Regions from separate parts of the Homo sapiens genome. Here all the other regions are linked to region 2. Evidence: promoter capture Hi-C in human tissues and cell types (Jung and others, 2019). All regions are on one chromosome and are shown on one strand. Each heading gives the region's core, a stretch centred on a gene start or on the middle of the fragment in contact. The rest is flanking DNA. Distances are from core to core; before and after follow the strand shown. Region 1 overlaps EMILIN2 (elastin microfibril interfacer 2). Region 2 holds the start of MYL12A (myosin light chain 12A). Region 3 overlaps DLGAP1 (DLG associated protein 1).

Region 1 (3,016 bases), core at 263-2,762, 350 kb before region 2:
CATGATCTACGTAATTTACAAAAATATCAGTTCACAACACATTGAAAATAAAAAAGGAAAACTGGTTCTTCCCACAGATGGATAGCCAAATATTATCTGTAGAATCAGGCTGGTGAGCTCAGAGTTGGGGTCAGATTTTTGGCATAACAGCTTGGGGCAGTGGGTGTTGTCCTCTCTTCTACCTAGGGAGTCTCCTACGTACCTCTCTTCAAGCATCACTTTTTATCTGTGTCGTTATCATCTTCAGGGCTTAGCTGATGGCAGATAGGATGCTGTCATATTTGTTTCCAGACACAGGACCGTGGATGAGAGCAGTTTAGGGACAGGAAGTATCTAAAGCTCCATAGTGCCTGCATCCAGGAAGCTCAGCAGTAGTGCTGAGAGCAATGCTGGCTACACCTTAGGCACTCAACAAATGTTTGTTGAATGAATGAATGTGAATGAATGAATAATATATGTAATAAGATTTTTTTGTTACTTGTGGGTGCTAAACGCAGCCTTCTCAAAGGACAGAGCTTCTCTTGTACCTGGGTTTGTACTCTGAGACAGCCTCCGACATAAGCTAGCCCTCTCTAGTCGGAGTCTGGGCGTGAAAGGAAGGAAGAGGGAGCTCGCGTTTTTGAACACTTTCTATGTACAGCACTGGCTTGGTCACTTCAGGGGGACTGAATCCTATCATGGCCTCACAGAAAGGCTGTTTTCCAACAGGGAAAATGTGCCCAAAGTCATGTGGCTGTTCAGTGGGGGAGCCAGGATGGAAACCAGGCCAGGCTGCGTCCAAGAATTGTTTTCTTGCAGTCCAGCCATGATGACTGTGTGTCTCCCAGAACTGAGTGCAGACTTACTTGGTCCATGGGGACTTGTTGAGGGGCCTGCTTTGTGCTAGAAGGAACCTATTCCTGACCTCCCCCTCCCTGTTTTCTTTTCTCCCATCCTTGCCTTTGGGACTTTTACCTCCCTGACCTGGTTCCGCTCTGGGTGACACAGGCCCTTGCACAAGGAACTGAGATTTCATGGCCTCTGTGAACCTTGGGATTTTATGATCAAGTCCCAGATGAGACATAAAACCCAAGGCAGCGTAGGCTAGAACGTGGGAAGCAGGCGAGCTCTGGCTTGGTCAGGGAGAGCCAGGGCCAGGTCCTGGCAGCTCAGGAGGGTGGAGAGGGTCCGAGGTAGGTGGGAAAATGCCCTGGATGTCCCCAGAGCACTGTGCTTATCTTGCAGATGACGAGTCACCTAGGCCCAGGAGGACCAGGAATCTGGCCGCCACCCGAGTGTCCAGCCCACTGCACCTCACTATTTATAACCCAGCCCTTCCCCCACTCCAGGGCCACTCAGCTCCTCTATCTCTGGAATGTTGAGTAGAGGTCACAAGACCATGTATGTGTTCATAGAATGATTGTCCCTTGTGGTGACAACGCTGTCTGGTCTGTGTCTTACGATAACAGGTTGAATCAGATATTTCCAGTTGATTTGGAACTCCCTGGTGGCGTGGGAAGCTGTGTTAACATTTTCGCATTTGTCTGTTGCAGTAGGAGTTGGGGGGTGAATTCTTTTAAAAGAGAATGTGCCATACAAAACATTATCCCTTTGGACTGAACTCATTGTGGTGAGTGTAGACTGCATGGAGTTTTGAGAATTTCATTGATTGGAAAAGAGCCAGAAATAAACAAGCAGAGCCTCCTCTGCCCTTGTCTAGCATCCAGGTCTAGGAGACCTGGAACCTGAGTATCAGAGGTGCATGGGAGAATCTGGAGCTAAGGTCACAATGAAAGTGACATGTCAATCAGTTAAAAGTCAACAGAATGTTTATTGAGTGCCTACGATGTGCAAGGCTCTTGGGGGACCTGGAGATAAGTAGGCATAATCCTTATTCTAAAGCATTTGCAATCACAGTGGGAAAGAGACTCACAGGTCTGCAGAGAGATGAATGAGATTGTTTGTGGCATAGCAGTTTATCCCTTTAGTTCATAAGCTCTTACTGAGCCCCTATTATGTGGTAGGTAATGGCTGTGTGGGGGAGTATGTGGATAAAAGTCTGATGGGGAAACAAGCAGACAGATGGTCACAGGAATGGGGTGTGGTGTGCATGAGCCACCTTGAGTGTTCAGAGAAGCACCCACAGTGGAAGTCAGGGAGGGATTCTCAGGAGAGAGCCCTGAGCTGAGCCCTCAGTGTAGGTATTTACCGAGCAGAGTACAGAGGCTGATGGGGTGAGGAATAAGGTGAGATGAGAGAAGCTTCCAGGAGGAGGTGTTACTGGATCTGATTGAGGGATGGGTGGGATTCAGAAAGCAGGAGGGGAGGACATTGTGGATTAGCTATTTATTGCTTTATAACAACCCATTCCAAATCTTGCTGGCTTAAAACAACAAAGATGTATTAGTTTCCATTATTCTGTAGGTCAGGAACCCCGGCAGGGCTTGGCTCAGCGGTTCTTCTGCTCTATGTGGCATCAGCTTGAGTCGCCCACTCAGCTGCATTCAGCTTGCGGTTGACTGGAAGGTCTGTGAAGACTCAGTCATATGTCTGGTGCCTCGGTGCTCCTCCACCTGGCCCCTCTCTCCATGTGGCCAACCTGGGCTTCCTCACAGCATGGCGGTGTCAAGTAGTCAGACTATGGCGACTGTCAAGGGAAAGTGGAAGCTGCTGGGCCTCCCACAGGCTAGCCCAGAGCTGGAGTGGCATCACTGCCACATTCTATTGTCAAAGCAGGTCTGCTCTTGAAGGGTGACGTGGCTGGTATGTTTGGGGAGGGAAGGGGGATTAATGGTGGTCATGATATCTACCACAGTGAGCACAGATCCAGAGGTGAAGATGTGTGATGGTTTTGGACCAGTAAGCAGATCGCCAGACCGGGAACACACACTGTGGTGTTTCTACTCAGCCTGTTGCCCTCTTCACAGATCCTGTTTCCTTTGGAAGCATCACTGAGGTGAGGCTGAATTATCCAAGAAGCAGCCAACAGGGGAGAAGAAGGGCCTTCAGCTGATGCTTAAATAGATCTAAGTCTCTT
Region 2 (2,971 bases), core at 1-2,500:
GTTAACTTTGGAATACGTTAGTGGTTAATACACGGAACGTTCCCGAGATCCCTCAAGAAAGAAGCTACGAATACTTAGAAGATACTATTCCGCGGCGTTTACAGCAACACTGTCCGTTCCAGAAGGATTCAAGTGGCGGCCTGCTTTGAAGGCGAAGACCACAGGGCAACCCAAACTTCAGAAGGGTTCTGGCCACGGGAGCCACACTGGTCACTGTCCCCTAGTGCTGGGATGACGGCTCGAGTGTTAGAGGATCCCACTCTCTCCTCTGGTAGGTGAGGTCAGAGAGCTGAGGGGGCCAGAACAAGTCTTCCTTATCGGATTCTGGGCGGAAAAAGATAAAGTCGGGGAGGACTTTCTCTTTTTAATAAGATTCATCGTTACGAATTGTTCTAGGCAAGCAGACCTCAGGAGAAATAGGCCCAAGTTTTGATTCCTGTTTTCACCAAGTCGCAAGTCCTAATCGTAGCAAGAGGTGCGGGGAAGAGTCGCCTTCCTTCCTGCATAGTGGGATCCAAGTCAGGCTGTCCTTGTTAGCCAGGGTCAAAGGGGCTCTGCCAGGGAAAAACGACGGCAAATGTTTTTCAAGAGGAAGTCTCCAGCCACTTGTGACCTGGGAAATCCGTCTGGGCCAAAAAGATAGTGGAGGCTTGGCTGAGGGCCCCAGGGACACACGTTTCCTCCCGTATGGAGGGGGCGGGACTCTTAATAAAATTACACTGCACACAGAGCTAGCATCAAGATCCGCTCCCGGGATACGCGCACTGCTCCGGGGCCCTCAGGCGGAGACCCAGACCCCGCGCGGGGCGTCAAGCGCAGGCGCACTACCGCCCACAAGCTGGAGCCCGGCTTCGGGGCGGGGCGAGGGTCAGTCACGTGGGCCCGCAGCCCTCTCCTCGATTTCCCTACAAGGACTTGGGCCGACGGGCCCCGCCCTTCGCCGTGCCCTGGAATGTGCGGCCAGGCAAAGCCACAGGACGGACGCAACCATCTGCGGAAAGGATAGGGGGGAGGAAGACTTAACACTGCAACAACAGGTACAAAAAAGAAGGAAACTCAGTAACAGGACCCAGAGGACCATTATATATTGCTCTATATTCTAGGTCGCCCACTTTACACTTCCTTCTCATGCACTTGGTCAATACCACGCCCGCTGACCACACTGGCGACTTCCCTCTCTGTCGCCCCTCCGTGAAGTCAGACCCACTCTGCGGGCCAAGAAAGGTGACCGGGCTTCCTTCCGGCTTGCTAAGCAGAGGCCGGAAGCGGTGGTTTTTAGCGGCTCTCTGGGTAGCAGGGTGGTGTGATAGCGGCAGCGAGGGGCTCGGAGAGGTGCTCGGATTCTCGTAGCTGTGCCGGGTGAGTGGCGCTCGCGTTCGGGCGCGTGAGACCCATCCCGGGGACCCGTCTCCGCGGGGGCAGCTGGAGGGCGGCGGGGCTCCTGGCGCCGGTAGCGCACCTGGGCAGGTGTGCCAGCCAGGTCCCCGGTTCTGGGATCCGAGGCCATGGCTTGGAGTGGCCCAGACCCGAACTTCGCTCCTGTGCCCAAACTTGGAACTCTGGAAATGTGGCTTCGCTCACTGGCGCCTTGAGCTTGGGCGACTGCCGGGCCCGCGAAACCCGACCCCTGCAGAGCTGACTCCGGGACTATTTTAGTTTCTAACGTCAACTTGCCCGATTCAAGAGGGTTTGCGCAAAAACGTAGCCCGTTGTCCCCCTGCTGCAGCTGTTGTTGCAGCTGTGTGGCTGCGTTTAGTAGGAATAACCAACTCAAATTGGGAAGTTCTTCAGCTCAGTATCCGCTCCTGTAATTAGAACTTTTTTTCTTTAAGCGATGAAATTTTGGACAGAGAGATCTGGAGTTTAGTTTGTGACTCGAAGAAAAACTCCAAAATGTAATACCTTGTCCCATTTGGGGGGAAAGTTTGGGCTAATTCAATTCGCCATGGAAGTGTCTTCTTTTTAAAGTAGTTTAGTAGGTATATGAATGTATCTGTCAGTTCTTGAGAGACCTATGGATTTAGCAGAGATTTTAACTTAAGTGCAAAAAGTTTCATATTTAAAGGCGAATAAAGCGAATATTTCTTAAAATTATTGGTATTTGTTTCATGTTCTGGAAGGGCTCTAATAAACGGTAATCAGAAAAGCACTCTATTTTCAAAAGCGAGGCTTTACTGGCAAGTCAGCCCTCACAGCTAATTGTCTTTGTCCAGTGGTGAGAACTTTTGGGTGTGGCAGTCCAAGAGAACGAATCCTACCTTCAACCGGAAGTTTGCATAAGAAATGAAACTTGGTTTACTTGGAACGGAAGCACCAACTTGAAATACACTTTTTAAAAATTGTGGTTAGCACCAGAAAATAAGTTATACTTAGGCTTTTTTTTTTTAAGTGCATTGATTAAATGAGGCGGTATATTTGGTCAGGGTTTAGAAAGCCCACCAAATACTAGGTGCTATCACAGTACGCAGTGTTTTGTAAGATGGTGGTTTTTTCTTGCAGAATGTGTGATATTTCTCAGAATATTATCAATTTGAGTGTTCGTTTTGTAGAAGAAGTTTCTAGGTTATTTTACATTTATTGCCACTTTGTAAATAAATGCTGGACTCTAGGATTCTAACCACAGAACTCTAATGTATATATTGGTATGGATTAATCCCATTTTATAAATGAACATAGTTTCTAGAGATTCTGAAAACTTCTTGTGTCCTTTGGTGTGTGGGGAAAGCCACTTTGAGAATCTCTTCTATTTCTCCCACCTATTAATCTAGTCTAACATTTTCCTTAATCATGTTGTGTATCTCTCGTTACAGCCCACAATGATTCTGAGCTAAAACACAAAATAAAAACCAGATTCATTGCCACCAGCGCTCACCTCGCCTGACTTAAAAAAAAGGTTATGCTCCTTTAGATCTGTAAACTCAGTCTCCTAACTGCCCTTCATCCACTTTCTCATGCATCTGAAATCCTCATA
Region 3 (3,052 bases), core at 137-2,636, 450 kb after region 2:
ATCAGAGACTAGGATTGCAACTCCTGCTTTTTTCTTGCTTTCCATTTGCTTGGTAAATATTCCTCCATCCCTTTATTTTGAGCCTATGTGTGTCTTTGCACATGAGTTTGGTCTCCTGAATACAGCACACCGCTGGGCCTTGACTCTTTATCCAATTTGCCACTCTGTGTCTTTTAATTGGGGCATTTAGCCTGTTCAAATTTAAGGTTAATACTGTTTGTGTGAATTTGATCCTGTCATTATGATGTTTCCTGGTTATTTTGCCCATTAGTTGAAGCAGTTTCTTCATAGTGTCAATGGTCTTTACAATTTGATATGTTTCTGCAGTGGCTGGTACTGGTTTTTCCTTTCCATCTTTAGTGCTTCCTCCAGGAGCTCTTGTAAGGCAGGCCTGGTGGTGACAAAAATCTCTCAGCATTTGCTTGTCTGTAAAGGATTTTATTTCTTCTTCACTTAAGAAGCTTAGTTTGGCTGGATATGAAATTCTGGGTTGAAAATTCCTTTCTTTAAGAATGTTGAATATTAGCCTCCACTGTCTTCTGGCTTGTAGGGTTTCTGCAGAGAGATCTGCTGTTAGTCTGATGGGCTTCCCTTTGTGGGTAACCCGACCTTTCTCTCTGATGATTATGTGTCTTGGGGTTGCTCTTCTTGAGGAGTATCTTTGTAGTGTTCTCTGTATTTCCTGAATTTGAATGTTGGCCTGTCTTGCTAGGTTAGGGAAGTTCTCCTGGGTAATATCCTGAAGAACGTTTTCCAACTTGGTTCCTTTCTCCCCATCACTTTCAGGTACACCAATCAAACATAAGTTTGGTCTTTTCACATAGTCCCATATTTCTTGGAGGCTTTGTTCATTCCTTTTCATTCTTTCTTCTCTAATCTTGTCTTCATGCTTTATTTCATTAAGTTGATCTTCAATCTCTGATATCCTTTCTTCCGCTTGATCGATTTGGCTATTGATACTTGTGTATGCTTCACGAAGTCCTCGTGCTGTGTTTCTCAGCTACATCAGGTCATTTATGTTCTTCTCTAATCTGGTTATTCTAGCTATCAATTCCTCTAACCTTTTTTCAAGGTTCTTAGCTTCCTTGCATTGGGTTAGAACACGCTCCTTTTGCTCGGAGGAGTTTGTTATTACCCAACTTCTGAAGCCTACTTCCATCAATTCGTCAAACTCATTCTCCATCCAGTTTTGTTCCCTTGCTGGCGAGGAGTTGTGATCCTTTGGAGGAGAAGAGGCATTCTGGTTTTCGGAATTTTCAGCCTTTTTGCACTGGTTTTTCCTCATCTTCGTGGATTTATCTACCTTTGGTCTTTGATGTTGGTGACTTTCAGATGGGGTTTTTGTGTGGATGTCCTTTTTGTTGATGTTGATGCTATTCCTTTCTGTTTGTTAGTTTTCCTTCTAACCTGCCCTCTGCTGTAGGTCTGCTGGAGTTTTCTGGAGGTCCGCTCCAGATCCTGTTGCCTGGGTATCACCAGCGGAGGCTGCAGAACAGCAAAGATTGCTGTTCTTTCCTCTGGAAGCTTCATCCCAGAGGGGCATCTGCCAGATGACAGCCAGAGCTCTCCTGTATGTGGTGTCTGTTGACTCCTGCTGGGAGGTATCTCCCAGTCAGGAGGCATGGGGGTCAGGGACCCACTTGAGGAAGCAGAGTGTCCCTTAGCAGAGCTTGAGCACTGTGCTGGGAGATCCACTGCTCTCTTCAGAGCTGTCAGACAGAAACGTTTAAGCCTGCTGAAGCTGTCTCCATAGCTGCCCCTTCCCCCAGGTGCTCTGTCCCAGGGAGATGGGAGTTTTACTTATAGGCCCCTGACTGGGGCTGCTGCGTTTCTTTCAGAGATGCCCTGCCCAGAGAGGAGGAAGCTAGAGAGGCAGTCTGGCTACAGTGGCTTTGCTGAGCTGCGGTTCAAACTTCCCCATGGCTTTGTTTACACTGTGAAGGGAAAACTGCCTACTCAAGCCTCAGCAATGGTGGACGCCCCGCCCCTGACCAAGCTCAAGCGTCCCAGGTGGACTTCAGGCTGCTGTTCTGGCAATGAGAATTTCAAGCCAGTGGATCTTAGCTTGCTAGGCTCTCTGGGGGTGGGATCCGCTGAGCTAGACCACTTGGCTCCCTGGCTTCAGCCCCCTTTCCAGGGTAGTGAAAGATTCTGTCTCGCTGGTGTTCCAGGCACCACTGGGGTATGAAAAAACTCCCGCAGCTAGCTAGGTGTCTGTCTAAATAGCCACCCAGTTTTTGTGCTTGAAACCCAGGGCCCTGGTGGTGTAGGCACCCAAGGGAATCTCCTGGTTTGCGGGCTGTGAAGACCATGGGAAAAGCATAGTATCTGAGCCGGAACGCACTGTTCCTCACAGCACAGTCCCTCAAGGCTTCCTTCGGCTAGGGGAGGAAGTTCCTCAACCCCTTGTGCTTCCCGAGTAAGGCAAAACCCCACCCTGCTTCAGCTCGCCCTCTGTGGGCTATACCCACTATCTAACCAGTCCCAGTGAGATGGGCCGTGTACCTCAGCTGGAAATGCAGAAATCACCTGCCTTCTGTGTTGATCTCACTGGGAGCTGCAGACTGGAGCTGTTCCTATTCAGCCATCTTGCCAGCCACCTAGCATTTTATTTTATTTTTTTAAAATTTTAATTGTTTTTTGAGACAGAGTCTCTGTCTGTTGCCCAGGCTGGAGTGCAGTGGTGTGATCTCAGCTCACTGCAAGCTCTACCTCCCAGGTTCACGCCATTCTCCTGCCTCAGCCTCCCGAGTAGCTGGGACTACAGGCGCCCACCACCACGCCCGGCTAATTTTTTGTACTTTTGGTAAAGACGGGGTTTCACCGTTTTAGCCAGGATGGTCTCTGTCTCTTGACCTCATGATCCGCCCACCTCGGCCTCCCAAAATGGTGGAATTACAGGGGTGAGCCATCACGCCCAGCCGACTTTGTTGCCCAGGCTGGAATGCAGTAGTGGGATCATAGCTTACTGCAGCCTTGACCTCCTGGGCTTACGTGATCCTCCTGCTTCAGCCTCCTTAGTAGCTAGGACTACAGGAGTGCACTCTGCCAT

Evidence for each region. The method cuts DNA at HindIII sites, captures the fragments that hold promoters and counts their contacts. A contact is called where the count stands out against the background at its distance.
Region 1: a fragment that was not itself captured here is called in contact with the fragment with the promoter of MYL12A in region 2 in 1 of the 25 tissues and cell types used here (lymphoblastoid cells).
Region 3: a contact is called between a fragment that was not itself captured here and the fragment with the promoter of MYL12A in region 2, in 1 of the 25 tissues and cell types used here (dorsolateral prefrontal cortex).

What each region holds. Positions count from the first base shown.
Region 1 is chr18:2,893,088-2,896,103 of GRCh38, forward strand. All of the region lies in intron 4 of EMILIN2 (elastin microfibril interfacer 2), which reads left to right. Among named protein-coding and RNA genes, the nearest start is that of EMILIN2, 48 kb to the left of the region's middle. The HindIII fragment of the contact is 6,251 bases long and covers 1-3,016 here.
Region 2 is chr18:3,246,551-3,249,521 of GRCh38, forward strand. MYL12A (myosin light chain 12A) reads left to right here and starts at 1,251. Exons shown (of 4, transcript NM_006471.4): 1 at 1,251-1,359. It also overlaps a transcript of MYOM1 not described here. RefSeq lists enhancers at 958-1,187, 2,320-2,389 and a silencer at 1,478-1,557. The HindIII fragment of the contact is 15,684 bases long and covers 1-2,971 here.
Region 3 is chr18:3,697,986-3,701,037 of GRCh38, forward strand. The region is part of intron 7 of DLGAP1 (DLG associated protein 1); the gene reads right to left. Among named protein-coding and RNA genes, the nearest start is that of DLGAP1-AS6, 46 kb to the left of the region's middle. The HindIII fragment of the contact is 3,729 bases long and covers 1-3,052 here.